Regions from separate parts of the Homo sapiens genome. Here all the other regions are linked to region 3. Evidence: promoter capture Hi-C in 16 types of primary human blood cells and fetal thymus (Javierre and others, 2016). All regions are on one chromosome and are shown on one strand. Each heading gives the region's core, a stretch centred on a gene start or on the middle of the fragment in contact. The rest is flanking DNA. Distances are from core to core; before and after follow the strand shown.

Region 1 (6,156 bases), core at 1,573-4,072, 360 kb after region 3:
CGTTCAGAAATGAGATCAAAATTTTCCGGCATTGATTATTAGGTGGGAAATTTCGCTGCACCTGGATCAGACTCACATATCTAAATATTTGCTGAGTGTTGAATATGTGTTGGACATTGTGGCAGGCATGCTGGACATACTAGAGCATATGACTCTACTCACTCCTTTGTATATATAGGGTTGGTGGCCCCTTACTGAATTTCAGTGAGTGACATGGTTTTCTCAAGGTTGCACACATAGGAAGCAGAAATGCTGAGATTAGAGCCCAGCCTGACTCCAAGTCAGTACTGTCCTTGGCTCTTTCTCTCCCTGACCAGCCCCAATAGCTGTACTCAAGTGGGCAGTAGAGAGGACAAAGATGACCCTTCCCCTCCTCTTAGATGCAAAGTCTGGATACTAGGGCAAGACACTACTCTAATTAGTTTTATTTTTACAGGCTCTGAGGCTTGTCAATGCTTTATGCAAAGTTATGCAGAATATGCAAATCAGGAGTGGCTCTGGTTGTGTTGTAACCAGGAGGGCACCTGCAATTCTCTGATCTGAAAAATTCCACCTGCAGAGCTTCCTGAGTGGGAAGTGTTGGGCTCCTGTCTGCAATGTCACGCCTCTTGAAAGTCCCTTCTGAGTAGTGCCCAGGAACTGGAATGTAAATGCCCCTGCCATATGGAGAGTATTAGCCCCAGAGACCTTGGCAGGGATGAATTCATTGGATATGAAGGTTTTTTGTTTTTGTTTTTAAAGCAGGTGGGCCTCAGTTTCCTCACCTTTATAATGAGTGAGTTGGTCTCTATGAGCTTCAAGGATCTGTGATCACCCTAAGTGTTTAGATCCCTGTATGGAGGTTTCTGGAAAGTACCATCCTCTCTCTTTTTCTTCAGCACTTTCTTATGATGCCCCCTGCCCCTCTCCAGCATTCACTCCCACTGCCCCATGTTTGTGCTTCCCCCCATGAAGTATTTGGCCTTCTGGAAGCTTCCATGCCTTTCTTACCTCCTATGCTTTGCACATGCTGTTTCTGCTCCTGGAATGCCTTTCCCTTCCTTCTCCATCTGTCTAACTCCCACTCTCCCTCCAAGCGTCAGCTCGGACATCGCCTTCTCCTGCCCGTTCCCCAGTCTAGGCCAGGTACCCTTCGTCCCCAGCCTCCTGGGTAGCACTCAGCAGCTGGTCGTTGTCCGCCTTCCCCAGCAGGCAGTGGGCTCACTGGGAACAGACACCTGTTGGTCTTCCCTGTAGACCCCCAAGCATGTGGGCCCAGGATTGTCACCAATCAACTGTCACTGGTCAACCTTTAAGGAATTAACAAATAAAAGAGTAAATGCACCCACTCCCTTTAATTTAGAATTGTCAATAAATAAATAAATAAATAAATAAAATAGGCCAGGCACGGTGTTGGCACCTGTAATCCCAGGGCTTTGGGAAGCCAAGGCAGGAGGATTGCTCGAGGCCAGGACTTTGAGACCTGCCTGAGCAACACAGTAAGATCCCATCTCAACAACAACAACAAAAGAATTGTCCAAAGGAAGCAGTTGCGTTAAGCTCCCACCCAGCTTGTGACTTTAGACTAAAAATAGGCATAGGGACACCAGGCTCCTCTAACTCCCTAATATGAATTTTAATTTTTAATAACTCGAGAAATCAGTGAACTATACCTATGGGAAAATGATGAGGAATCGGCCACATAAATTAATGGAAAGTATGTGTTCACATTATCTAACTGTATTAAGTGTGAATAATAATTAATTATAGATTCTACATGAGGTCTTGTCTTGGAGAGTTCTTTAACCCAATGTGAAGAAATTTAAAAAGTCATTCATCACTCTCCTGTGCTCCACCCCAGGCCATAACATAAAAAGCAATAGCTAAAGAATTTTCTATAATTTATTAAGATTATCATCTTAGAGGAAAAATAACTCTTTAGAGCATAACAACTTAGAAATGGAAGCTGCACCCAAACGTGTTTGTTAATGCTGGTGTAATCATCCAGGCCACCTCCCCGTTCTCCCCTGCATTTATTCATTCTTTCACTCAGTCACTGTACACCCTGTGAATGTGGTATGGAGAGGTGGTATAGCAAGCGGATATGAACATGAACTCCAGGGCCAGACTGTCTGGGGTCAAATCCAAGCTCATCTACTTTCCAGCTGTGTGGTGTTAGGCAATTTGCTAAACCTCTCTGTGTCCAAGTTTCCATTCTATAAAATAGAGAGAATAATAGGACCCATCTCATAGAGCTGGGATGGGAGCTTAATAAGCCAATACATGTGATGTGCTTGACCTAGAGCTGAAACTAATTCTAGGTGTGGCCCTGCTGGTGTGCTGGGCAGTAAGACAAAATGACTTTCTGCCCTTAGAGAGTTTGCTGATTGGTGAGGAAAACAGACCATAAATAAGCAGCTGCATTTTAAATTACAAAGTGTGTGTTGCATACGCAAGAGAGTACAGGACTACGATAGGGAATGATGAGGGCATTTTATATAAGGCAAGCAGGTCCAGCTTCTCTCGGGAGGGGACGTTCAGATCAAGGACTGAAGATAAGAAGGAGCTGGTTAAGTGAAGAGTTGGGGGAAGAAGATTCCAGGTCTTGGCTTATGTGTGGTACCCTGCTACCTTGGGTTGCCCTTTCCCTGTTTAGATTTTTTTTTTTTTTTGAGACGGAGTCTTGCTCTGTCACCCAGGCTGGAGTGCAGTGGCTCGATCTCGGCTCACTGCAAGCTCTGCCTCCCAGGTTCATGCCATTCTCCTGCTTCAGCCTCCCGAGTAGCTGGGACTACAGGCGCCCGCCACCAAGCCCGACTCATTTTTTTGTATTTTTAGTACAGATGGGGTTTCACTGTGTTAGCCAGGATGGTCTTGATCTCCTGACCTCGTGATCCGCCCGCCTCGGCCTCCCAAAGTGCTGGGATTACAGGTGTGAGCCACTGCACCAGGACTTTTTTTTTTTTTTTTGACAGAGTTTCACTCTTGTTGCCCATGCTGGAGTGCAGTGCAATGGCACGATCTCGGTTCACCACAACCTCTGCCCCCCAGGTTCAGGAAATTCTCCTGCCTCAGCCTCCTGAGTAGCTGAGATTACAGGCATGCCCCACCATGCCTGGCTAATTTTGTATTTTTAGTAGAGACGGGGTTTCTCTGTGTTGGTCAGGCTGGTCTCGAACTCCTGACCTCAGGTGATCCGGCTGCCTCGGCCTCCCAAAGTGTTGGGATTACAGGCGTGAGCCACCGCCACCGACCATCTTTCTGTTTTTATCAGACTCAGCTACAGAGAGCAAAGGTACTCATCTCCCAGCCCCTGGCACATTCTCACTGTTGAACTGCACACAACCTTTTTTGTGGGTTTGGGTTTTTTTTTTTTTAACCTTTTTCTCATTTATCCCTGATTCCCACCACCATTCTGTTTCCCCCATGGGCATTTTCCCTCATGTATTTGATATATGTTCTTAAATATGCATGAATCCTTATAAAACATGTTGTGCTATTCTGTGTATATCTGCTTTTAATTAACATGACTAATTCCGTGCCGTAGCTCTCAGTCTGGTTTTTTTTTTTCTTTCCTCTCTTAGCACCGAAGTATATTCAATGGTCTGTAATAGTTGCTTATAACCATGCACAATGTTTTTCCATGGTGAGAATTCACCACATTTTTCTCATGCATTTCTTCAGCAATGGACACCCTGGTGGTCTCAAAGTCCCTGATCCTCCAAACTACACTGCTGGAGTAGCCTCAAGGGGCGGCAGGGCTTCTTTTTGTACCATAAGATGCGAGACGCAGGGTGTGAGAGGAGATGTCTCTGAGATAGACATCCAGGAGAGGTCACGCTGGGTTGTGAATAAATATTTAATGTCCTTAACTGCCAGGGCCCTATAGCCCAAATGGCACCTCCATGAAAACTAGAAAAAGCACAAAAACCAAAACAACAACACTAACAAAAAACCCCAGAAACACAACAAAATTGAAACAAACACAAAAGCCCTGCCTGCCCTTTGAGGCTCAGCTCACCGCTGTCTCCTAAGGGGCCGGATACCATTTCTTTTCTACTCTGAATGCCCCTGGCACATGGTCCCCTTTGCCTGGGAAACAGTGAGCTACTTGAAGGCAGAAAATCATATATTTGTCTCTTTCTTGCTTTCTCTCTCTCTTTCTCCTTCCTTCCTTCCTTCCTTCTTTCTTTCTTTTCTCTCTTTCTTTCCTCCCTCCCTCCCTCCCTCTCTCCCTCTCTCTCTCTCTCTCTCTTTCTCTTTCCTTCCTTCCTTCCTTCCTTCCTTCCTTCCTTCCTTCCTTCCTTCCTTCCTTCCTTCCTTCCTTCCTTCCTTCTCTCTCTCTCTCTCTCTCTTTCTTTCTTTCTTTCTTTCTCAGAGTCTTGCTCTGTTGCCCAGGCTGGACTGCAGTGGCGCAATCTCAGCTTACTGCAGCCTCCACCTCCTGCGTTCAAGTGATTCTCCTGCCTCAGCCTCCTGAGTCGCTGGGACTACAGGTGCGCACCATCATGCCTGGCTGATTTTTGTATTTTCATTAGAGATGGGGTTTCACCATGTTGGCCAGGATGGTCTCGATCTCCTGACCTTGTGATCCCCCTGCCTCAGCCTCCCAAAGTGTCGGGATTACAGGCGTGAGCCACCGCCTCCGGCCTATTTGTTGTCTTTCTACCAATTGCAATAGCAGGCCCTCATAAAAGCTTGCTGGACTGATTTTCTATTTCCTGACACTTCAGAGCAGCATGACCTCACCACATATTGATAAGCATGCCCACTACAGAAAAGGGGAAAATGATGGATTTGAGAATCAAGAATTGTAAGATTCTGGTCTCCTTGCTGTCACCAACCTGAAGGGTAACCATCAGCAAACAACTTTTCCTCTCCGGGTCTGAGTTTCCCAGTGGCAGCTCCTCTGTGACAGAGATAGGCTAGTTTCCCCCAAACCACTTCCCTTTTCCTCTTGGGCTTACATGTAGCCTGCATTACCCAGCCTCCTTGCAGTGAGGTGCAGGCCTGTCTTCAGGTTCTGGTCAATAGAATGTGGATGGAGGTGACATACTCTGCTTCCAGGCCTGATTTGTGAAAACCTCCTCATGCGAATCTCCACATTCTTACATCATCTGCTGGCCAGATGCAGAAAATCCCACAGCACCGCAAGCTAGAAGGAGCTTGGATCCCGAGTCACCCCCTGGAGGAGAGCCATCCAGGAGAGCTTTATAACCAGAAACACCCTTGGGGGATGGTTGTATGAGCAAAACTAAACTTTTATGGTGTTTTGCCTTTGAAAATTTTGAGGTTGGTTGTTACACTAGGTGCCCTCCTGATTAATCTATTTCCCTCAAGCCAGATTTCACCCAATAATTCCTTAATTTGTGTCATGCTTCTCCACTTTTCACAATTGATGTTTTGTGGCCCAGTTCTTTTATTCTACTCAAAAGTAGCTGAATAATCTGAAATAGCAATTGAGTATCCAAAAGGAGCCAATCTCAATGCTGGAGTTGCCCTGCATCCGCTCCCTACAATCCATCACTATCATGGAACCAAAAGGATCTCTCTGGAACCAAAAGGAAAAGGCAATTCCTCCAAAATACTTTCATGGTCTTCTGTTATCCTCAGAATGAAGCCAAAGGGCTCATGCCTACAAGGGCTACCAAAACTGGCTTTGTCTATTTCTTCTACTTCCTCTCCTCTGTTGAGTCCACGGTTCAGCTGCAAAAGCATTTCCTCTAACATGCCAGTCTCAGTGCCCAACACGGTAAGGACTAGGCCTTCAGGGTAACGCTGCACGCACCGCTAGCTGAGCCCAGGAGGCTCTTCCATCCCCTCCTCCTTATCTTGGGGGTGTGGCTTACAAGTCACTTTTCCTTAGGGGGTCTGGGCCCCCTGATCACTCGCTCTGGTCCACGCTCTTGCCCCACTGATGTGCTTACCACTCACAACATTCACTGCAGTTGTAATTACTTGTCCCCTGAACTGTCAGTGTCCTGAAGGAAGGACCAAGCCAGTCTTGCTTCTTGCTGAATCCCCACACCTGGCCCAGACCCTGGCTTGTTGTCCATGCTCTTAAGTATAGTCATGTGTCGCTTAACAAATGGGGATGCGTTCTGAGAAATGCGTCATTAGGTGATTTTGTGCAAATGTCATAAAAGTGTACTCACACAAACCTAGATGGTAGAGGCT
Region 2 (6,695 bases), core at 943-3,442, 320 kb after region 3:
GCGTGATCTCGGCTCACTGCAAGGTCCGCCTGCCAGGTTCACGCCATTCTCCTGCCTCAGCCTCCCAAGTAGCTGGGACTACAGGCGCCCGCCACCACGCCCGGCTAATTTTTTTGTATTTTTATTAGAGATGGGGTTTCACCGTGTTAGCCAGGATGGTCTCGATCTCCTGACCTTGTGATCCGCCCGCCTCGGCCTCCCACTTAATGCATATTAATTATTGCTATCATTCCTGACACCCTGTAGTGTGCCCCTCGGGGATGAGAGGGTTTAACTGAACATCTGTCTCCTCCCGGATGCGGTGGCAACCCTGGGATCTGGCAGCAGTCCCCTGTGGGCTTTTTTCCTGGGCAAAGTGAGTCCATCATCACTCAGACATGACACACGGCCTGGCCACCCCCTCTGGGGCCACAGGCAGCCGATCCTGGGCTAAAAATACCAGTCTCATGAATGGAGCCAGGGAGGCCATTCTGGGATCCACAATTAGTGTTTGTGTTAAAACCCATTCTCTGACTCTCCACCCCTTATGTGCTGCTGATTCCGGGGAGACTGACATTTTCAGCTCCCAACACTCACTCAGGGTTTGGGGGTTTGGGAACGGAAAGGAAGGGGAGTACATCTGAAGGGTCCTTTAACAAGTAGGGAGGCAGCCGGTCACCCAATTCCCCTACTACCGAGTCGGGTAGGAATTAAAATTCCCCTTTATAGTGGAGGAAATGGATGTTTCCAGAGATTGCAGCCTGGGGATATATAGTTAAGTCTGAGTTCTGGGCCAGTGCTCCCTCCAAAGTCTCTTCTCCCTCCACCTGGTGCCACCCAACAGCCCTTTGGGGAGGGGTCCTGACTTCGGGGGTGGGAGCTGACCTCGGGCATCTTCCATCTCTCCTGAGACTTGAGGTACAGTCATCCTATGAAGGATCAGAGCTGGAAAGTGGGGGCCTGGCTCAGGGAGCAGCAGAACCAGAGCAGAAGCTGAGCTGGAGATGCCCTGATGGGGCCGAGGTGGAGGCTCAGGCCTGGGATGGGCAGTTGGACCAGCAGGTCCAAAACAGCAGAAGCCAAGGCAGGCAGCGGTCTTGGAGATGCCCTCTGACCTGCCGTGGACTGGAGCCTCTAAGATGCTTCCTCCTGAGGCTGGAGCTGATGACTGGCATCCTTGGGATGTAACCTGCGTGCAGCCGGCAGGTGAGGACGTCATGCAGGGCAGGAGCTCAGGCCCCCCAGAGGGGGTCACACCTGGCCGGGCCACTGCCCTGTGAACATCCTTTCAAGGGACCCTTTCTCTTGCTTGTTTGTGGCCCCGCTAGACTGTAAGCTCTTGAGGACAGAGCCATTGGGAATGAATGACAAGGTGAGTCTGGGGGCCCAGGACCCCAGACAGTAGCTGTCCTTACTGAGAGAAGGGTTAGGGCTCCCGGAGGCATGGAGAAGGATGAAGGCCCAACTTACTCCACTTGGGGACCACCCTGATCACAGAAAACACTGCCTGCTTCCCTCACCCTCAGGGACAGCTATGCCCAAAGGGAGGGCCTCAGCCTCTGGCTGGAGAAAAAGCAGATAGTAAAGATGGTGGCCCCTGTGCTTTCAAGTTTCTCAAGCCAGATCCCGACTAGGCTCACAGTGTGTATTTGGGACTTTTAGAATTTGGGAAGTTGAGACCTATGAAAGTTTGAGAACCTGGGAAACTTCAGAGCTTTCAGGATCTTTTGAAATCTTGGACATTTTAGAATCTGGAGCATCTTTAAACCTGGGGAACTTTAAGAAGCTTGAACTCTTCTGACGTTGTGGAATTTGAGGGATTTCATTTTGGGGCTCTGTTGGCCTTGGAGTGGATGCTGTCCTCTTGGTGTAGAGGAGGACATTCGTCAGCAGACCTGAGCCCTCTCCTCCCACCGGCCCTCAGAGCCCAGTATTTCAAATATCTCGACGTTATGCAGTTTTAAACTTCAGATTTTTGAAATGAAATTGTATTAGTTATCTTGAATGTTCGATGTTGTGTTTCTCAAACATGTGTTGGCCTACTGGATTTCTAAGTTTCTGGCTCTTTCTTTTGCAAATGATTTTTCCTCTCATGTCACAGATTCAACAAATATTCATGCTGGAATGGGATGCAGAAGTCACCTACTTTCAGAGATGGGGAAACTGAGACCCAGAGAGGGCACAGCCTTTTCTCGGGGGCCTCCAGTGACTCAGAGTCAAATCTGTGCTTCTTGGCTCCTGGATCTCTGAGCTGCACCCACTGGACCCCTATGCCAACCCCAGCACCCCTGTTCTCCATGGCGGCCCCGCCCTGAGGATTTCCTATGCCTTTCTACAGAGCTTTCTCCTTCTCCTAGATCCCTTTTCTGCAAAACGAGGCTGGGGAGTTCTGAGCCAAGCCCAGGCCCACGTGCCTGGAACCAGAGACAGCGTAAGGAGCAGACACTGCCAGGTCACTTGCAGCAGACTCCAGGAGGAAATGAGGGAAACAGAACCTCAGCCGTAGCCTAGCCAGGGCTCTCAGAGCCTAGAAAGCTCTTAGGAGAAGTGGAGAGTTGTTCAGATCCAGGCTAATTTGTCATCTCCAGCCCTTCTCTGGTGATCAGCTTGCCTCTTCCTCTACCTGCCCCTATAGGTAGAGGAAGCTTGCCCTTCCTCTCCTGCATCTTCTCCTCCCCTTTCTGTCACATGCCTTCTGCTTCTTGAGGCCTCTGCCTCATTGTAGTTTCTCTTGCTGTCCAGTTCCGGTGAGCTCATGGCTTCTGTAGCCCAGTTTCTCTTTGCTTCCCTTTGTGAATCTTTCCTGCTTCGACTCTCACTCCCAACTTCTTAACTTACACTCAATGCTCCCAGAGGGAGGACTTGATTGGTTTGGAAGTCCCCCACCAGGACAGGCCAAGGATTAAGTGAGTTCTTATATGAGGTCTCTGATTCCCTAACTCCAGCTAGGTGTTCAATTATTCAGTTCAATTCTGACACCAACTCCAGGAGTTAGTGCAGACCCCAAGGTTTAGGGCTCAGCCCCACAGGGCTGTCCCCCTTTAGCCACCAGTCACACACAAGTCCAGGGACCATCTGTACATCTGACTGCCTGGCTCTGAATTTCAGGGTTCCCATAACCTCCCCTTCTAGTTAGATCATTCACTAGAACAATTCACAAAACTCAGCAAGTGCTTTACTTACTATTACCAGTGGATTATAAAGGATACTACTCAAGAACAGACTCATGGAAGAGATGCAGGGAACAAAACATGGGGGATTTGCACAAAGCTTCCACGCCCTCCCAGCGAGTCCCTGTGTTCACCAGCCCTGAAGCTCCCAAACCCTGTTGTTTAGGGGTTTTTCTTGCAGTTTCATTATGATGGATTAAATCATTGGCCATTGGCGATTGAATTCAATCTCCAGCCCATCTTACCCCCATGGAGGCTGTAGGGGGTGTGGGGGTAACCAGCCCTCATCATGAAGCTCTCTAGGGCTCCTCCATAAGTCATCTCATTAGCATATGAAAGGCAATACGTTCAGGGGTTTTAGGAGCTCTGTGCCAGGAATTAGAGACCAAGACCAAATATTTATATTTTATACCACACCAGGCCACTTCTCAGCCCACTGGCCAACTTCAAGATTGACTGCTGTTAGGTCACAATACCCACTTGGCCAGGGGTAGAGATCACTCAGTATCATGTGTGGTGTAAGCTGTTGAGATTAGGCATAGACAGTGGCAGGTGACTGACGGGCTGGACAACTGACAGATGCTCACCTTGGCCAGTGTAGGCACAGATAGGGCAGGACCCCATTTGTTTAAGTGTTCCATCCTCAGAAATCCCCTCTCCCCCACTTCTTCCTTCTCTTCATTCCTTCTTTGCTATTTTTAAATGGCACATTGGAAATAAAACAATTGTCAATGTATTCAGCCCTCCCGCAGCGGGCTGCCAATCAGCACAGTCCAGCCTACCTCCGCTTCCATTCCCTCCACCTTAGCCCTCACCTCCCTCTTTGCTCTTGCCCCCGTCTCCGGGCACTCAGGTCTCTGTTAGTTTCTCAACAGCTTTGCATATGCTGTTCCCTCTATTTGGAATGCTCTTCCCCATCTCCCACCCCTGGCTGGCTTTTCCTGGCCACCCACTCTGAATGATGCGCTCCTCTTACATATGTGCCCTGTGTGTTTCTTTACTGATACTTGTCAGCCTGCTGATCGACTTATTTGCACAAACATTTAATAAATCACTGGACCGTCTGCTGTAGGCGGGCAGAGATCAGATCTGTTTTGTCTTGCTCAGTACTGTGCAATAACACCTAGAACAGGCCTGGCTTGGTAGATAGCTATTGAATAAGTGAGTGAATGGATGAATGTCATTGAATCAGAGATGATTATGATTCACAAAGGCTTATATGTATGAGTGAATTTGAAAAAATAGAAACAACTTGAATATTCAATAATAGCCAATTAAAAATATAGTAACCTACAATGGAATTTGCATGGCAATTAAAATCATAATTTAAAAGCATATCCATGACCAACAGCATTAGTCGTTAGGCAAATGCAAATCAAAACCATGATGAATTGCCACTTTACACTCACTAGGATGGCTGTAACTTTTAAAAAAGGGAAAATAACTGTTTTTGGTGAGGATGTGGAGAAATTGGAAGTGGATGTGGAATCTGGCAGTTCCTCAAAAAACTAAACATAGATTTACCATAGGGGCCGGGCACGGTGGCTCATGTTTGTAATCCCAGCACTTTGGGAGTTATGAGGCAGGTGGATCACCTGAGGTCAGGAGTTCAAGACCAGCCTGACCAAGATGGTGAAACCCCATCTCTACTAAAAATACAAAAATTAGCCAGGTGTGTTGGCACGTGCCCATAATCCCAGCTACTCAGGAGGCTGAGGCAGGAGAATTGCTTGAACCCGGGAGGCAGAGGTTGCAATGAGCCAAGATAGCGCCACTGCACTCCAGCCTGTGCAACAGAGCCGGACTCCGTCTCAAAAAGAGAAAAAAATAAAAAATATTGACCACAGGACTCAGAAATTTCACTCCGAGGTATAGATCCAAGAGAAGTGGAAATATATTCACGCAAAAACCTGTAAATGAATGCTCACAGCACATGATTAATAATTTTCAAAGAGTAGAAAAAACTCAAATGTTGATCAACTGCTAAAGGGATACACAAAATGTGATCTGTCTAAACAGTGGAGTATTATTTAGCCATAAAAAAGAATGAAGTACTGATTTATGCTACAACTTGAAATGTTTAACCTTGAAAGTATTATGCCAAATGAAAGAAGCCAGTTACAAATAGTCAAATGTTGTAGAATTCCAATTATATAACCTATCCAGGTGCCAAATGCAGACAGATAGAAAGCAGATTCGTTGCCAGGAAATGAGGGGAAGGGGAGTTGGGGATTGGCTAGTATTAGGTCAGTGCAGAAGTAATTGCGGTTTTGGCCACTTAAAATAAAAAACGTCAAAAACTGCAATTACTTTTGCACCGACCTGTTAATAGGTATAAGATTTCTTTTGGGGATGATAGAAATGTTCTAGAATTAGGTAGTGGTGATAGTTGTACAACATAGTATACTAAAAGCCACTGAATTGTACAATTTATTTATTTATTTATTGTGACAGAATCTCACTCTGTTGCCCAGACTGGAGTGCAGTGGCACCATCTTGGTTCACTGCAACCTCTGCCTCCTGGATTCAAGTGATTCTTTCTGCCTCAGTCTCCTGAGTAGCTGGGATTACAGGCGCCCACCATCATGCCTAGCTAATGGCTAATTTTTATATTTTTAGTACAGACGAGGTTTCACCATGTTGGCCAGGCTGGTCTCGAACTCCTGACCTCAGGTGATCCACCCGCTGTGGCCTCCCAAAGTGCTGGAATTACAGGCGTGAGCCACCGTGCCAGGCCTGAATTGTACACTTTAAAGTAGTGAGTTTTACGTTATGTGAATTGTATCTCAAAAAATAAATTAAAAGTATGTGCAATGAGAGAAGACGGTGTTCATGGTTTATTAAAGGGAAACCACAAGGTTACATAACTTAGCTGCAATATCTACCATACTCTATACATACGAGAATTCCTAAAAAGTAACAGTATTAGAATATGTGTGTGTGTGTGTGTGTGTGTGTGTGCGTAGCAGATACAGATGCAACCACAAACTGAGACACGTAAGAAATGTCATGTTTGTCTCAATTTTAAAATGACCTGAGAAAGAACTCTTCTGTGCACTCGCTTTAACCCTCTTTCTTCCTTACTACTCAAACCTTCGCTAGGTTGAAACTGCAGCCTGGAGAATGGGATTGGAGGTGAGAAGAAACTGACATTCTGTCTATTTCTAGACCAGAAAATTCTGCACTGGTCTAGAAATAGACATGATTGCCTTGGACTGTGTTTGCAATTTAAAGGAATTGTCATTACTAAGACAGCAAAAAAGTCGCCCCCCCCAACCCTTCCTGGAGTTGTCCCACTGACTACATTTTAAAGAGATAATGGAACACAAAAATAAAGTTGTGCTTTTGATTACATTACCAGTCTGGCTTGTTCAACCTGCTGGTTCCAATAGCATTATTTCTGCACCTGTTGCTAGCTAGGCATTGGGCTACTATAACAAAGGTTTGCCTCGTTTAGCCTCAAAAACATCCTAAAGGCAGGCCATACCCTCCAGATGATCCAGAAGGAGAAACTGAAGCCCAGGGTGGTTACATTGCATGTTCTTG
Region 3 (6,939 bases), core at 855-3,354:
AGTATTTACACAAACCTAGATGGTAGAGCCTGCTACATGCCTAGGCTATACGGTCTAGCCTGTTGCTCCTAGGCTACAAACCCATACAGCTTATTATGTTCTGAACACTGTAGGCAATTGTAACACAATGATAATTGCGTGTGTCTTTCAACATAAACTTAGAAAAGGCAAGGTAAATATATGGTATTATAATCTTAGGTGGCCACCATCACATATGTAATTCACTGTTGATCAAAACATTGTTATGGATATATGAGGCAGTTGAAATTATTAATGCAAATGGATTTGAGAGAAAGGAAGGGTCAAGGTTGATTTCAAAGCCGTGACAAAGTCCTCTGCATCAAGCTTTGAGAAGCCCCTGAATCCCAGAGTGTGTTAGAAGCAGATCTTTAATACTTACCAGAGGCCGTAAACTGTATGTAACCTTGACTCATCATTTCCCCCACTGGGAATCGATTCCACGGAAACCATCAAGGACTTCTGCAAAGATGTGAGTAAAGAGATGCCCATCCAGGCGCTGGTTTAACGGTGACGTATGGAGAACTACGTCATCATCCAGTAATAGGACATTGATTAAGTAGATTCTGCTCCATCCATAGGAAGAGATATTATGCAGCCTTTAATATGATGTGGTAAAACTATTAATATGGATATATACCTAGGATATAATGTCATTAAGCGAAAAAGAACCAGCAACAAAACCATATTACCATATAATCCAATTTCCAAAAGTGTGTGTGCAATGGAAAAAATGTCTGGAGAGATAAACAACCAGATATTAGCAGTGGTTATCTCTGGGGGCAAGATTATAAGTTTTTTTTTTTTTTTTAATTCTCTTACCTGAAAATTCTAACTTTACTCCATCCAGTAAGCTTGTATTACTACACGTCAAGATCTCCTGTTTCCCCCCAAATCAGACCTACCTTCTCTGAAGTTCCATGGCCAGAACTGTAAAAGGCTGTCCAAGAGGAGGAAGCATCATTATTGCCTGGATCTTTATCTGTGCTGCTCTCCCAGGGATCCACTGCTGTTTCAGGATCAGCTGGGGAGAGATTCTGGCCATGTATCACCTCCACCCCAAGCCAGGACATCTCAGCTACAGTAAATCCTAAACACCGCCCCAAAGTCATCTCCTTGGTCTATGAACAAGTCATCGCCAAATATCAATTGTCCCCAGCATCACTCCATTGTTTTCAACCAAGAACTGGCATTTCCATAGCACTTCACAGTTTACAAAGGGCCCTGGCCCTTGCTAAGATCTAAGTGTGGTGATCCATCTAGATAGGTTACTAGCCTTTTGGGATTTTTTGTTGTTGTTTGCAGAAAGCCATTTGATACTCTAAAACCACCCTGTGAGAGAGGCTGAATGGGGAGTAGAAAGGTGCCGGCTTTGGAACCAGATTTGGAACAATTTGTCTTGGACAAATGGCTTAACCTCTCTGAACTTCATTTTCCTCTGTAAAAAAGGCTAATCATCCCACTCCTACAAGGTTGCTCTGGGGAAGGAATAGTCTATACGGTGCCCAGTAGAATACGGAAGGCGCTCAATACAGAGTTAGCATGATTATTTTTAGACCCATTTTCTAGATGGGGAAGCCAAGGCTCAGAAGGGTGAGGCAACTTGCCGAAGTCTTCCCAGCTAAAGAGTGGCTGAGTTTGAAAGATGAACCCAGTAGCCTGCCCTCCCAGGCCAGAGTTCACCTGTCGCGCGCTGCACGGCTGCTGCCTCTCTGGACTCTGGAGCCCTGTGACCCGTCCCTCCGCGACCCTCTCTGTCTCCTTACCTGCTCCCTCGGAGCCGCCTCCTCCGCCTCCGTTCGTGCAGCCCTGCACGCATGTGCTTTGTTTTCTGACTTCCCAGGCCCGATTTCCAGGTAGCGTGGGTGGGTCTTATTTGCATAGGTCTTAGCAGCGTTTGGCCAGCTCTCGCTGTTTCAGGTTTTCTTCTTCCTTCTGGTGACTTTGGACCTCCTGTACACCCTGGAAGCTTTGGTTGCTTTGTCTTTCTCCTGTGAGTCACTCTGGCTTTTTCTCTGAGGGGATCAAGTGCGCTCATCCTTGCAGGCCTCTGTTCTGGGTCCGATTGATCTCCTGCCATCCCCTCGGATTCCACTGTCCTCTGTGCGCTGACCTGCCTCGACTCCTGGCTTCTGCCGAGATGGATCCTTCCCTATGCTGAGTCCCTGTAACCAAAATACAGATAGCTCTTGCAAAATACTGACAAAAGCGGCCACTAATACAGCAGAAAAATAGTCGGGAGACGGTTGAGCGTCTGCCTGAAGAGCCAGGGTTCTCAAGCAAGGCACACTTCTAGGTCAGAGTTCAGCCCTCACTGAGAATCCAAACTCCGTTTAACTACCGATGGAGACTTGAGCAAATTAATTAACTTCTGCCAGCCTCAGTTTCCTCACCTGAAAATGGCCATAATAACCTACCTACTTGATCTGTAGATTAAATGAGGTAATACGTGTCGAGATCGCGTAATAACACAGGGCCTGGCAGACAGTAACTCGCTAAATGTTAACCAGAACTATTATTGTTATAACCGGTCTGTTCACGTGGCCCATCTTTTGTTCCCGCTCAAATTCTTTTTGTACCTATGGTCCTCTTTTCTTTCTCTCTCTCTTTCTTTCTTTTTTTTTTTCTTTCTTTTTTTTTTTTTTTTTTAAGACGTAGTTTTGCTCTGTCGCCCAGGCTAGAGTGCAGTGGGGCGATACTGGCTCACTGTAACCCCCACCTCCCTGGTTCCAGCAATTCTCCTGCCACGGCCTCCCGAGTAACTGGGACTACAGGTGCGCGCTACCATGCCCGGCTAATTTTTACATTCTTAGTAGAGACAGGATTTCGCCTTGTTGGCCAGGCTGGTCTCAAACTCCTGACCTCAGGTGATCCACCTGCCTCGACCTCCCAAAGTGCTGAGATTACAGGCATGAGCCACCGCGCCTGGCCCCTTATTTCTTTACTGACATTTTCAGCCATACTTGAGAAATAAACAAGTAAATAAATGTATCTGCTTGGTGATGTAATCAAATGCCCTAGTCCCCGCATTTTGTGTTTTTTTACATTAATTTTTATGTATTGATTTATTTTGAGACAGAGTCTCACTCTATCATCCAGGCTGGGGTGCGGTGGCACGATCACAGCTCACTGCAGCCTCAACCTCCTGGGGTCAAGCAGTCTTCCCACCTCCGCCTCCTGAGTACCTAGGACTACAGGTGCATGCCACCGTGGCTGGCTAATTTTTGTATTTCTTGTAGAGATGGGGTTTCTCCAGGTTGCCTAGGCTGGTCTCAAACTCCTGGGCTCCAGCAATCCACTTGCCAAAAGTGCTAAGATTACACTTGAGCCACCGTGCCCACATTTGATTTTTAAATAGGTAATATATTTACATGGTTGAGCATGTGAATGGTTTGATTTCACAGTGAAAACTGTCTCTTCGCAGCCACCTAGTTTCCCTGGAAATCAAAGTATTATACTATCAGTTTGTTGTGTATCTTTCCAAAGATGTTTTATACATACACAAACAGCATGTCCATGGCAAAACATCTATGTATTCCTTTACCTCCTTTTTACACAAATGTGCATATTATGTACACTGTTCTGCATTTTTCTTTTTTCATTTGATGATGTATTTGAGATATCATTCTGTATTAGTACATAAAGACCTTCTTCGGTTTTTGGCCCAGCGCTGTGACTCACACCTGTAATCCCAGCACTTTGGGAGGCCAAGGCGGGTGGATCACTTGAGGTCAGGAGTTCAAGACCAGCCTGGCCAACATGGTGAAACCCCGTCTCTACTAAAAATACAAAAATTAGCCGGCGTCATGGTGCACACCTGTAGTCCCAGCTACTCAGGAGGCTGAGGCAGGAGAATCGCTTGAACCTGGGAGGCAGAGGTTGCAGTGAGCTGAGATTGTACCACTGCACTCCAGCCTGGGCGACAGAGCAAAAAAAAAAAAAGAAGACCTTCTTCGGTTTTTTAATGGTTGTATCAGATTTCATTGAATGGCTGTACCATAAATCACTTCACCAATCCCCTATTGATCTAACCCCCTCATTATAAATATATAAATATTGAATGAAAGAATAATGCAAAAATGCTGATTTTAAGTTAGCCTAGAATTGTGTGAAAATAAAACTGTGGACTTTGGGAAGTTTTAGATCTCTAAAGAAAATGTCTAAGTAATTCTCCTCTTTCTGAGCTGGAGACGAGGTATATGATCACCGATGGCCTCAAAGTTCCTCTCAGCTCTGGAATTCCCTGCTTTTCGGTGTCACTACTGGTTAACTGAGGTTACTGGGGATTCGAGACACTGATTTAGTCCAAAGAACCTGGTTTGTATTTGAGAGTTTGGAAGTCACGCTTTCTGGCTTGGCAACATAAGAAAACATAAAGAAGTTCATCTACTTTGACCTAATCATGTAATTCCCCAGAAGCATCAAAAAGATATATTTTGGTTGAGTGAGGATATTCATTGCAGTTTTATTTTAATCACAAATGATTGAAAACACTCCAAAACCCCATCAATTAGGTGAAAAACTACATAATCATTTAAAATGATATAGAAAGATTTTCATTGACTTTTAAAAATGGTCACAGTATACTGTAAATGGAGGGGGAAAGCAGCTTAAAAATGGTGCATGTTGGCCGGATACGGTGGCTTACGCCTGTAATCCCAGCACTTTGGGAGGCCGAGGCAGGCGGATCACAAGGTCAGGAGTTTGAGACCAGCCTGGCCAATATGTTGAAACCCCGTCTCTACTAAAAAATACAAAAAAAAAAAAAACTTAGCTGGGCGTGGTGGCAGGTGCCTGTAATCCCAGCTACTTGGGAGGCTAAGGAGGCAGGAGAATCGCTTGAACCTGGGAGGCGGAGGTTGCAGTGAGCCGAGATTGCACCACTGCATTCCAGCCCAGGCAACAGAGAGAGAATCCATCTCAAAAAAAACACAAACAAACAAACCAAAACCAAAACAAAACAAAACAAAAAAACGGTGCATGTTGGCTGGGCACATGCCTATAATCCCAGCACTTTGGGAGGCCGAGGTTGGAGGATTGCTTGAGCCCAGGAGTTCAAGACTAGCGACCCCATTGCTACAAAAAATAAAAAAATAAAAAATTAGCTGGGCGTGGTGGCACATGCCTGTTGTCTCAGATACTCAGAAGGCTGAAGTGGGAGGATCACTTGAGCCCAGAAAGTCAAGGCTGCAGTGAGCCCAGATTGCACCACTGCACTCTAGCCTGGGCAACAGAGCAAAGACCCTGTGAAAGATAGAAAAGAAAAAAAGAAAGAAAAGAAGAAAAGAGAGGGAGAAGGAAGGAAGGAAAGAAGAAGGAAGGAAGGGAGGGAGGGAGGAAGAAAGGAAGGGAGGGAAGGAGGAAGGAAGGAAGGGAGGGAGGGAGGGAGGGGAAGGAAAAGAAAAGAAAAGGAAAGAAAGAGAGAATGTAGCATAAGCCAGATTTTGTAAAGCATAATTTATGTATAAAGACTGCAAGACCATGAGGCAAAATGTCACAATTTTATCTCTGGGTGATGGCCACTCATGTTTTCGCTTTCTTCTTGCTTACATTTTCCAAGTTCTCAAATATGTATTACTTTTGTAGTAAGAAAGTTCACTTAGAAAGTAAGTTAAGTCTGAGTTTTCTGCAACCAGGGTATCCAGAACTTAAAAAGATAAGCAGGTAGGGCAGGTAAGAAGTCAGTCATGACATTGTAAGCATTGAAATAAAAATAAAATAAGTCATAGCCAGGCATGGCCTGTAATCCCAGCACTTTGGGAGGCCGAGGCAGGCAGATCACTTGAGGTCAGGAGTTCGAGGCCAGCCTGGCCAACATGGTGAAACCCCGTCTCTACTAAAAATACAGAAATTAGCCAGGCATGGTGGTGGGTGCCTGTAATCCCAGCTACTCTGCAGGCTGAGGCAGGAGAATCACTTGAACCTAGGAGGCGGAGGTTGCAGTGGGCCGAGATCGCGCCATTGCACTCCAGCCTGGGCGACAAGAGCGAAACTCTGTCTCAGAAAAATAAAATAAAATTTAAAAAGTCATGGCTTTTTTCCAGGTCACTAATTGTCTAGTGAGTCTATGCATTATCATAATGTCTGTGGGTGGTCAGGCTAAGGAGTGCTTTGCCAACAGTGAAAAATTTTTCCAGGGAGATACCCGGGAGAGATAGTGAGGCATCTCAGGAACTTGAGAGTTAAACTAATTTATAAAGTTCATGCTTGTGGGGGCAAGATCAGCCATCTGGAAAAGCACCTCACCTAAGCAGTACCTTAGACCCGGGTGAGTGAAGAGTCATGAGACTCGGTGGAGCCCAGCCAATGTCTGGAGCAGAGGCGTGGGGTGGTTTTAACTCATCTGGGAAGGAAGAGGTGGCAGAGGGCAGAAGGATGGAGAAAAGGTGATGAGTGCAGCAGGTTTAGAATCCGGCATGGTCAGTGTTTAGCAGGCCCCAGTCAAGGGCAGAGGGCAACTCTCCCTAGGGGGCCACCATGTCATCATCACTCAGAGCCTTGCCTGAGGCTTGTCTAGCATTTAGGACAGTTCCGGCAGCATAGGCATCACTTAGAGATTGTTAGAAATGCAAAATCTGGCCGGGCATGGTGGCTAACACCTGTAATCCTGGCTCTTTGGGAAGCTGAGGCAGGCAGATCCCTTGGGGTCAGGAGTTCGAGACTAGCCTGGGCAACATGGTGAAACCCCATCTGTACTAAAAATACAAAAATCAGCTGGGTGTGGTAATGGACACCTGTAATCCCAGCTACTCGGGAGGCTGAAGCAGGAGAATCGCTTGAACCTGGGAGGTGGAGATTGCAGTGAGCCAAAATTGTGCCATTGCACTCCAGCCTGGGCAACAGAGCGAGACTACGTCTCAAAAAAAAAAAAAAAAAAAAAAAAAGAAAGAAAGAAAGAAAGAAAGAAAGAAAGAAAGAAAA
Region 4 (7,118 bases), core at 788-3,287, 340 kb after region 3:
CTTCAGGTGGGAGCTTACATTATTGATTTTAACCCTATCTTTTTTCTAATATAAACATTTAAAGCTATGCATTTCCCTTCAGGCACTCTCTTAGCTACATCCCACTCATTTTAATATACAGTGTTTTCATTTTTATTTGGTTCAAAATGTTTCTTATTTGCCTTGTGATTTCTTATTTGATCCATGTGTTATTTATAATGACTTTAATTTCCAAATATTTAGAAATTTTCAAAATATCTTTCCGTTACTGATTTCCAGTTTAATTCTGTTGTAGCCAGAGGTCATACTCTGCATAATTCAATCTCTTAAAAATTGTTGAGACTTTTTTATGGCCCAGCATGTGATCTGTCTTAGTGAATGCTCCATGTGTGCTTGGATAATGTGTATTCTGCTGTTGTTGGGTGGAGCATTCCTTAAATGTCAATTAAGTTCAGTTGGTTGATAGCACTGCTGATATTCTTACTGATGGTTTAAATCATTTTTATAATGTGTTCTTACACAAACGAGATTGTGTATATTACAAGAAAAATCAGATGATCCAGATGTAATAGGGTACCTGAGAAGGCAGAGACTCATTAGTTTTTTTTTAATCAAGAGAAGTGGGATCATAAAATCATCTTGAAGCAGATCCCTCAGTTAACTGAGAATACCTTGAATGGCCTTCTTAATCAGGCTATTAATCAGAAGGTAGAGCCAGAAGGCTTCGGTCTTTGGGGTTCCGGTGTAGATAGTCACTCCCTTAGATCTCTTGCAAATTGAGTAGGTACAGAGCAGGGATGACTACTTGGGTAAAAAGCCTTTAGAAGATAGTATAGTACTCTGCCTGATTAAGGAGGTCATTGGAAGGATTTCTCAATTAACTACAGGATCTGCTTCAGTTGCAGGGTGGATAAGGTGGTTCCATCTGAGTCTCCAGGGCAGGAAAGGGCCATGAGACCCATGGAATGATCTTATGGAGAAGGGTGGCCTAGCCAGGTGAGCTGGGAGGGCTTGGAGGCAAGCCTGGTTTTGAGGCCCCCTGCTTGGGTGAGTGAACAGGTCACACCCCCACTAGATGTGGGTCTGGTTCTCAAGGAGGTTACCATGCGTGTGCACAGATAAAATATTCACAAACTCTGAGACTCACGAACCTGGGAAATCTAAACTTCTTGTCCTCTATAGCAGGGGTCCCTAACCCCTGGTACCAGTCTGTGGCCTGTTAGGAGCCGGGAGGCACAGCAGGAGGTGAGCTGCGGGTGAGTGAGCTTTACTGCTAGAGCCCCGCCTCCTGTTAGATCAGCAGAGCCCTTAGATGCTCATAGGATTGCGAACCCTGTTGTGGACTGCGCATGCGAGGGATCTAGGCTGCACGCCTTATGGGAATCTAACTAATGCCTGATGATCTGAGGTGGAACAGTTTCATCCCAAAACCATCCCTCCCCATCCCCATCTCCTGTCTGTGGAAAAATTGTCTTCCACGAAACGTCCCTGGTGCCAAAAAGTTGGGGACTGCTGCTCTATAGGACCAAAGTTCCTGACTCTCACCTTCATGATGGTGGAAACAGAAACACAACATGAATGCTGGTGACTGAAGGGACCCCCCGCAGAGTGCAGTTTCATGAGAACTGACCCTGCCAGGGAGGGCAGCGGCGACAGGGCAGCCATTCACTGAGCCCTTGTTACAAGCCAGGTACCGGCAGGCAGGTGAGTCAGTTCTTACCATGATTGGGCAAGATGAGTCCTATTGCTGTACCCATTTTAGCTTCAAGGAAGTAGAGGCTCAGAGAGTCTAGGAGATTGCTTCCTGTCCCACAAATAGAGTGGAGTTTGAATCCCAGACAATCCAACTGTAGAGTTCATGCTCTTCAAGCTGGAGAGGTGGCCCAATCGCGGAGGTACTCGATTGCCAGGCTAGGGAGATTGGACTTTATTCTGAAGGCAATGGCAGGCATGGAGAATTCTGGAGCAGAGCCAGAAGGATCCCTCTGGCAGCTGGGTGGAGGGTGCCTTGCAGTGAATGGTTAGTTAGGAAGCTGTTCAAGACAGAAAGAATCACAGTTAAACCCAAATCAGCCCTAAGCACCAGAGATGAAAGTCTGAGGGGACTGAGGATAGTGTGGGGAAGAAGAAATTTCATCCAGTGTTAGAAATGGGCAGAGAGGTGGTTGGATGGAGAGATGGCAGACGGCATTAGAGGCATAGTGTGTGAGCGTCGGGGTGGGGGTGAACCTCTTTCCTCTGGCTCCTTGGTAAAGCCCAAGGGGAACAGGAGAGAAAATTCTGGACTAGAAATCAGGAGCCCAGGGTCCCAATCTTACCCTTGCCATGGGATTCACTGTATGACCATGGGCAATTTGCTCCCCTTCCCTCAGCCTCGGTTTCCCCATATGTACACTTTGCAGGGTTGGTGTGAACAGTGCCTGAGACCTGTTTTGCAAAGGGGAGAGCCCCATAACTGGTCTTTCCATTTCTGCTCCTGGTCCTTCTAATCCATCCCCCGAGGGTGGCCAGACGGAGGTTTAAAGTTAATTGCATCAAATGCCTGCACTGGTTTCCCTGCCCTGGCCCCTGCCTCCTGCTGCCTGGCTCCACTATGTTCTTAAAACCTACCGCTGGCTTTCACTGTACTTAAAAAATGTCCAAGCCCTTTCAATGGCCTTCAAGGCCCTGCGTGATCTGACTCCCGTTCACCTCCGGGATCTCATTTTCTCTCTCCCTCCTGGTCCTTCACTGCATTCCAGTTATGCTGGCCTTCTTTTCAGTTTCTCACAACTCACCCAGCTCTTTCTTATCTCTGAGCAATTGCTGTTCCCACTGCTTGGAATGCCCTCCCCCTGTATCAGTTATCAGTCTCAGTTAACTGCTGGGTAACAAAACACTCCAAAACCTAGTGACTTGAAACAACAACCATTTGTGGTTTCTTGGGAGGCGGTGGGTGGGCTGGGCAGCTCTGCCGATTTGGTGGCACTGGTGGATCTCGGTTGGTCTTGGCTAGTTCACTCAAGCATTTGCAGGCAGCTGCGGGTGGAGCAGGTGGTTCTGTGGATCTTGATCTCGGCTGGGCTCCCTCACGTGTTGGTGGTTGATGGACAGTTGGTTGGTCTGGGCTAGTCTTGGCTGGGGTGACTTAGATAACCAGGCTTCTCTTCCATGTGCCTTTCCTTCTCCCTAGCAGGCCTGCTGGGGTGAAGGCAGGAGTCCAAGGAAAAAGGCAGAATCCTGAAGCATGTTTTCAGCCTCTGTGTGGGTCATTTCCTAACATCCTACTGCCCAAAGAAAACCACATGGCCAGGGCCAGAGTAAAGGGTGGGGAAACAGACTCTGCCTCTTTTTTTTTTTTTTGAGACAGGGTCCTGCTCTGTTGCCCAGGCTGGAGTGCAGTGGTGCAGTCATGGCTCACTGCATCCTTGCCCTCCTGGGCTCAAGCGATCCTCCTGTCTCAGCCTCCTGAGCTGAGACTACAGGCGTTTGCCACCATGCCTGACTAATTATTTTTTCTAGAGATGGGGGTCTCTGTATGTTGTCCAGGCTGGTCTCGAACTCCTGGGCTCAAGTGATTCTCCTGTCTCAGCCTCCCAAAGTACTGGGATTACAGGCATGAGTCACTGCGCCTGGTGCTAGACTCTGCCCTTTTAGTGATAAGAACCAGCTATAAGATCACTGGGCAAAAGATCTGGACACAGAGAAAGGAGAAAAATTGGGGTATATTTATCTCTGCCTCCTTCTTTCTACCTAGTGCCTTCTCATGCATTGATGCCTCCTTGGAGGAGCCCTCCCTGACCATTCTGAGGGCAACAGTTGTTCCCTGGTTTTTCTCAGCCACAGCCCTGCTCTGCTTGGACCACCTTTGTCCCAGAATGCAAAGTAAGTGTTCAGCAAATATTTCTACGTCAACTAATAAACCATCACAATTCTTGGGGAAAGAATGACACTGTGCCCGTGAGTGGTCAGTCCCCTCCCTTTAAGTGCCACATCCCAGAAGTGCAGCCTCATAGAAAGCAGCTACCACATCAGCCTGTCCCCTGTCCCCTGTCCCCAGAGGAACCCTAGACCCTGAGGCTGCCCTTGCCATTAGAAATGAGGTTCTCAAGACTGGCTGAAAGCTTGTTGACCTAGTGGCCATGCCCTTGCTGGGAAGTCGCACTGCTCTGGTAGAGAGGGTCAGGCCATTCTGTCCCAGGAGACCCACAGGGCTTGCTCCATTGTCCTTCACTCTTAAAATAGATTTTATAACCATGCTGCTGAGTGAAGACCTCCAGAGTCTCAGAACTCAGGTCAGAGCCTGAACTCAGGTCTGAAGCCCTGTGAGGTCAAGGTGGACTGGGGCTACACAGTGGGATATGGACAGGACAGGCCTCAGGGCCCCGCCTCTACCTCCCAGCTGTTTCCACCTACCCAGTCCCCATAGGACTTCTCTGTCCCTTTGTGTTGTGGCTGTAGTGGCATCTTTCTAGATGCCTGTCTGCTTGCTGTTTGGGGCAATGTATTGGGAGCAGGATATAAAACCGGGACCTCCTTCATTCTCCCCAACACGAATGTCTATAGTAGTAATAATAATAAGAATAACCACAGCAACTACTATTGGCTTGGCATCACTACATGTAAGACATTTTGCATGCCTGGACTTACGTAATTCTCACAGTGATCGTGAGACTTGGTAACATCATCATCCCGTCTTCCAGATGAGAAACCAGACAGGGCGAAGGGTGTGCCTGAGGTTGCCCCACTAGGAGGTGGCAGAGCGAGGATTCAAACTCAGGTCTGATGCCAAAACCAACACCTTCCTCCACCACCAGGCCCAGGTTGCCCCTCAGCCTCCCCTCCAGCAGCCACACCTCTGAGTGGCTGCCCTTCCCTCCCTGCCCCTCAGCCCTGTAGGACCTGCATCTGCGTAAAACACTCGTGGGCTCTCTTTCTGCCACCTGAGTCACTAAGCATCTGCCCTGGCTGGCCTCCTGGTGTCTGGGCTGGGAGCAGGCCTGGCTGCTGGTGCAGGGCCGGGAGAGCCACGTGCAAGCTACAAGTGTTGTCCTGCCAGGGGCCTTTGTCTCCCCCATAATGGGACCCAGCGCTCTCTCCAGGCCCCTGAGAGCCTGAGAGGCTGTGGGCCAAGGCCTTGGCAGAGCGGCCGGCTGAGGGCACTGAGTGGAAGCAGATGTGCCTGGGCTGCCTTTGGCCCGCTGCCCAGAAGAGCCTTTCCATCTGGAGCCCTCGGGCTTGGGGAGGATGCTCCGACTGTGAGAGCCGTGTGGGGACCGGACTCACACGAGGCTGCCTTGGACCAGAATATTTTAATCTGTTTGGTTTAAGAAAGAAACAAAGCCTCCATTTTTGTTGTGTGTGCCAGAGCTGGTTCTGAGCCAATGGTGGTGAGAGATTGACACCCAACCTCTGATACAGCTTATGCATGGGGAAACTGAGGCCTAGTGAGGGCGGAAGGACTTCCACAAGGTCACCTAGCATTTTGTGAACGTGGACATGCTATACCAATTAGAGTGACAATTGGGGCAGATCTGGGAGGGGTCCCCAGCCTTCCTAGAGCAAGGTACGTGTGGGCATCTTTCTTGTCTAGCCTGGGTGTGGGTTGCAGAGCCATGAGATTTTCTGGAAGGGAATCCCCTGCCACTCCAGGGAGGGGAGAGATAGCTAGTGTCCTCCTGTTCTGTCAGACTAAGTCCTACCGCAGAGACAAAGGGCTCCTTCACCAGTTACTGTCAAAACTGACATCTTCAGGGAGGGAGGGGACCCTGCCTTTCTCCAGTGATCCTGCTCGTGGGGTCTTTTGAGAGAGACAGCTCTGAACTGAGATTGGGAGCCCTGAGTTCAAGTCTGGAATCTGCCTCTGACATGCTTTGTGACATTCGGCAAGCTGCTTCCCCTCTCTGAGCTTCCTTTTTTTCCATCTGCAAAATGGGGATAATTGTATCCCAATGTCTTCTGGGATAGCAAGAGTACACTTTGAAAATCTAGTCCCTCATCCATTTCTTGAGGGTGTCCAAAATCAGCCCTTTGAGGTGGGAGGAGCAATATTCTCACTGCCTGGAAGGGAATGGACAGCTCAGAGAGGTGAAGTGACTTGCTCAGACACACAGCATCCGTGGATCAATGCTGTGGGGTTGGAAGGGTTTCCTGATTCCTAGTTCTGTGGTCATCTCCTCTCCGTGAGACCTGATGTCCTCTGCCAGACCACATAGAGACAGCAGACATGGCCTTCGGTGGGGTCCTCCACCACCCCTCATGGAGAAGCCGAAAATGAGGGCAAGGGCCAAAGCATTGAGACTTGCTTCACCTATTGGAATGGGGTCCTGAGGATCGATGCGACACATGGCCTGCAAGTTGCCTGCAGCATGCCTGTTGGAGGGTGAGGTCAGCCAGTCTCTGCTTGCATAGCTCTCGGACAGGAAGCTTACTATTTGCTCAGGCAGCCTGTCTCATCCCAGCGACTGTGAGAAAGCATCCTCGGCCTGGGCTGAAACCTGACTCCTCTTCAAGGTCACTCCTGTTCCCCAACCCCCAAACTGTGCACATTCTGCTCCCCAGCCTGGGGTGGCCCACAGGCCCTAAAAATGGGCGAGCCTGGGGCTGCCTGGATTCGAGAACTTACAGCTCTCCCAGTCTCCCCTTCCTCTCACTTGACCCCTGATGCGGAACAGCCTCCTTTCCTGAGGCTCTGATTACCCTGGAGCAGGCAGGCGGAACCTTTCTCCTCCACCCCTGGCAACACTGCTGGGCAAGCACACCACATCCTGCTCGTCCTACTGGAAGATGCCTCCCTCTGCATTGGGGAAGGGATGAGACTTCCGGGCCAGGCCAGCAGGAAGACTCACTGGTCCAGAAGTCAGAACACCTGAGTCACTTGACATGCACTCTCAGATGAGCTGCTGCACTGCTCTGTGCCTCAGCCGCTTTCATCTGTAGAATGGGATGGTCATGATGCCTGGCCAGCAGGGCCCATGGAGCTTGTATAAAACCTGATGGGAGGGGAGGTTGCAGTAAAAGCCTTGGAGATGAAAACACTGGACACAGGTGAGGATTGTGTGGAGCAGAAGCATCTCACCCAGTTGAGATTCTGGACAAATCAGAGCCTCCCTGTCTCTCCGCAGCTGTGAACACCTACCTACCCCGCCAAGGCCTCCTGC

Evidence for each region. The method cuts DNA at HindIII sites, captures the fragments that hold promoters and counts their contacts. A CHiCAGO score of 5 or more calls a contact.
Region 1: a contact is called between a fragment that was not itself captured here and the fragment with the promoter of RNF183 in region 3, in 5 of 17 cell types (naive B cells, activated CD4 T cells, naive CD8 T cells and 2 more). The highest score is 6.4, in naive B cells.
Region 2: a contact is called between a fragment that was not itself captured here and the fragment with the promoter of RNF183 in region 3, in 4 of 17 cell types (erythroblasts, naive CD4 T cells, naive B cells and 1 more). The highest score is 7.3, in erythroblasts.
Region 4: a fragment that was not itself captured here is called in contact with the fragment with the promoter of RNF183 in region 3 in 14 of 17 cell types (fetal thymus, naive CD4 T cells, total CD4 T cells and 11 more); the score reaches 10.7 in fetal thymus.

What each region holds. Positions count from the first base shown.
Region 1 is chr9:113,664,799-113,670,954 of GRCh38, forward strand. The region is part of intron 2 of LOC105376223 (a long non-coding RNA gene); the gene reads left to right. Among named protein-coding and RNA genes, the nearest start is that of RGS3, 200 kb to the left of the region's middle. The HindIII fragment of the contact is 3,704 bases long and covers 971-4,674 here.
Region 2 is chr9:113,624,555-113,631,249 of GRCh38, forward strand. LOC105376222 (a long non-coding RNA gene) reads left to right here. Exons shown (of 4, transcript XR_007061739.1): 3 at 891-1,185; 4 at 2,081-4,237. Among named protein-coding and RNA genes, the nearest start is that of RGS3, 160 kb to the left of the region's middle. The HindIII fragment of the contact is 859 bases long and covers 1,764-2,622 here.
Region 3 is chr9:113,301,272-113,308,210 of GRCh38, forward strand. It overlaps RNF183 (ring finger protein 183), which reads right to left and starts at 2,105. Exons shown (of 5, transcript NM_001371237.1): 1 at 1,785-2,105; 2 at 924-1,042; 3 at 401-480. RefSeq lists enhancers at 4,376-4,545, 6,311-6,480 and a cis regulatory region at 6,396. The HindIII fragment of the contact is 12,929 bases long and covers 1,986-6,939 here.
Region 4 is chr9:113,644,160-113,651,277 of GRCh38, forward strand. LOC105376223 (a long non-coding RNA gene) reads left to right here and starts at 3,716. Exons shown (of 3, transcript XR_930254.3): 1 at 3,716-3,843. RefSeq lists enhancers at 4,521-5,021, 5,022-5,522, 6,508-7,007. The HindIII fragment of the contact is 4,085 bases long and covers 1-4,080 here.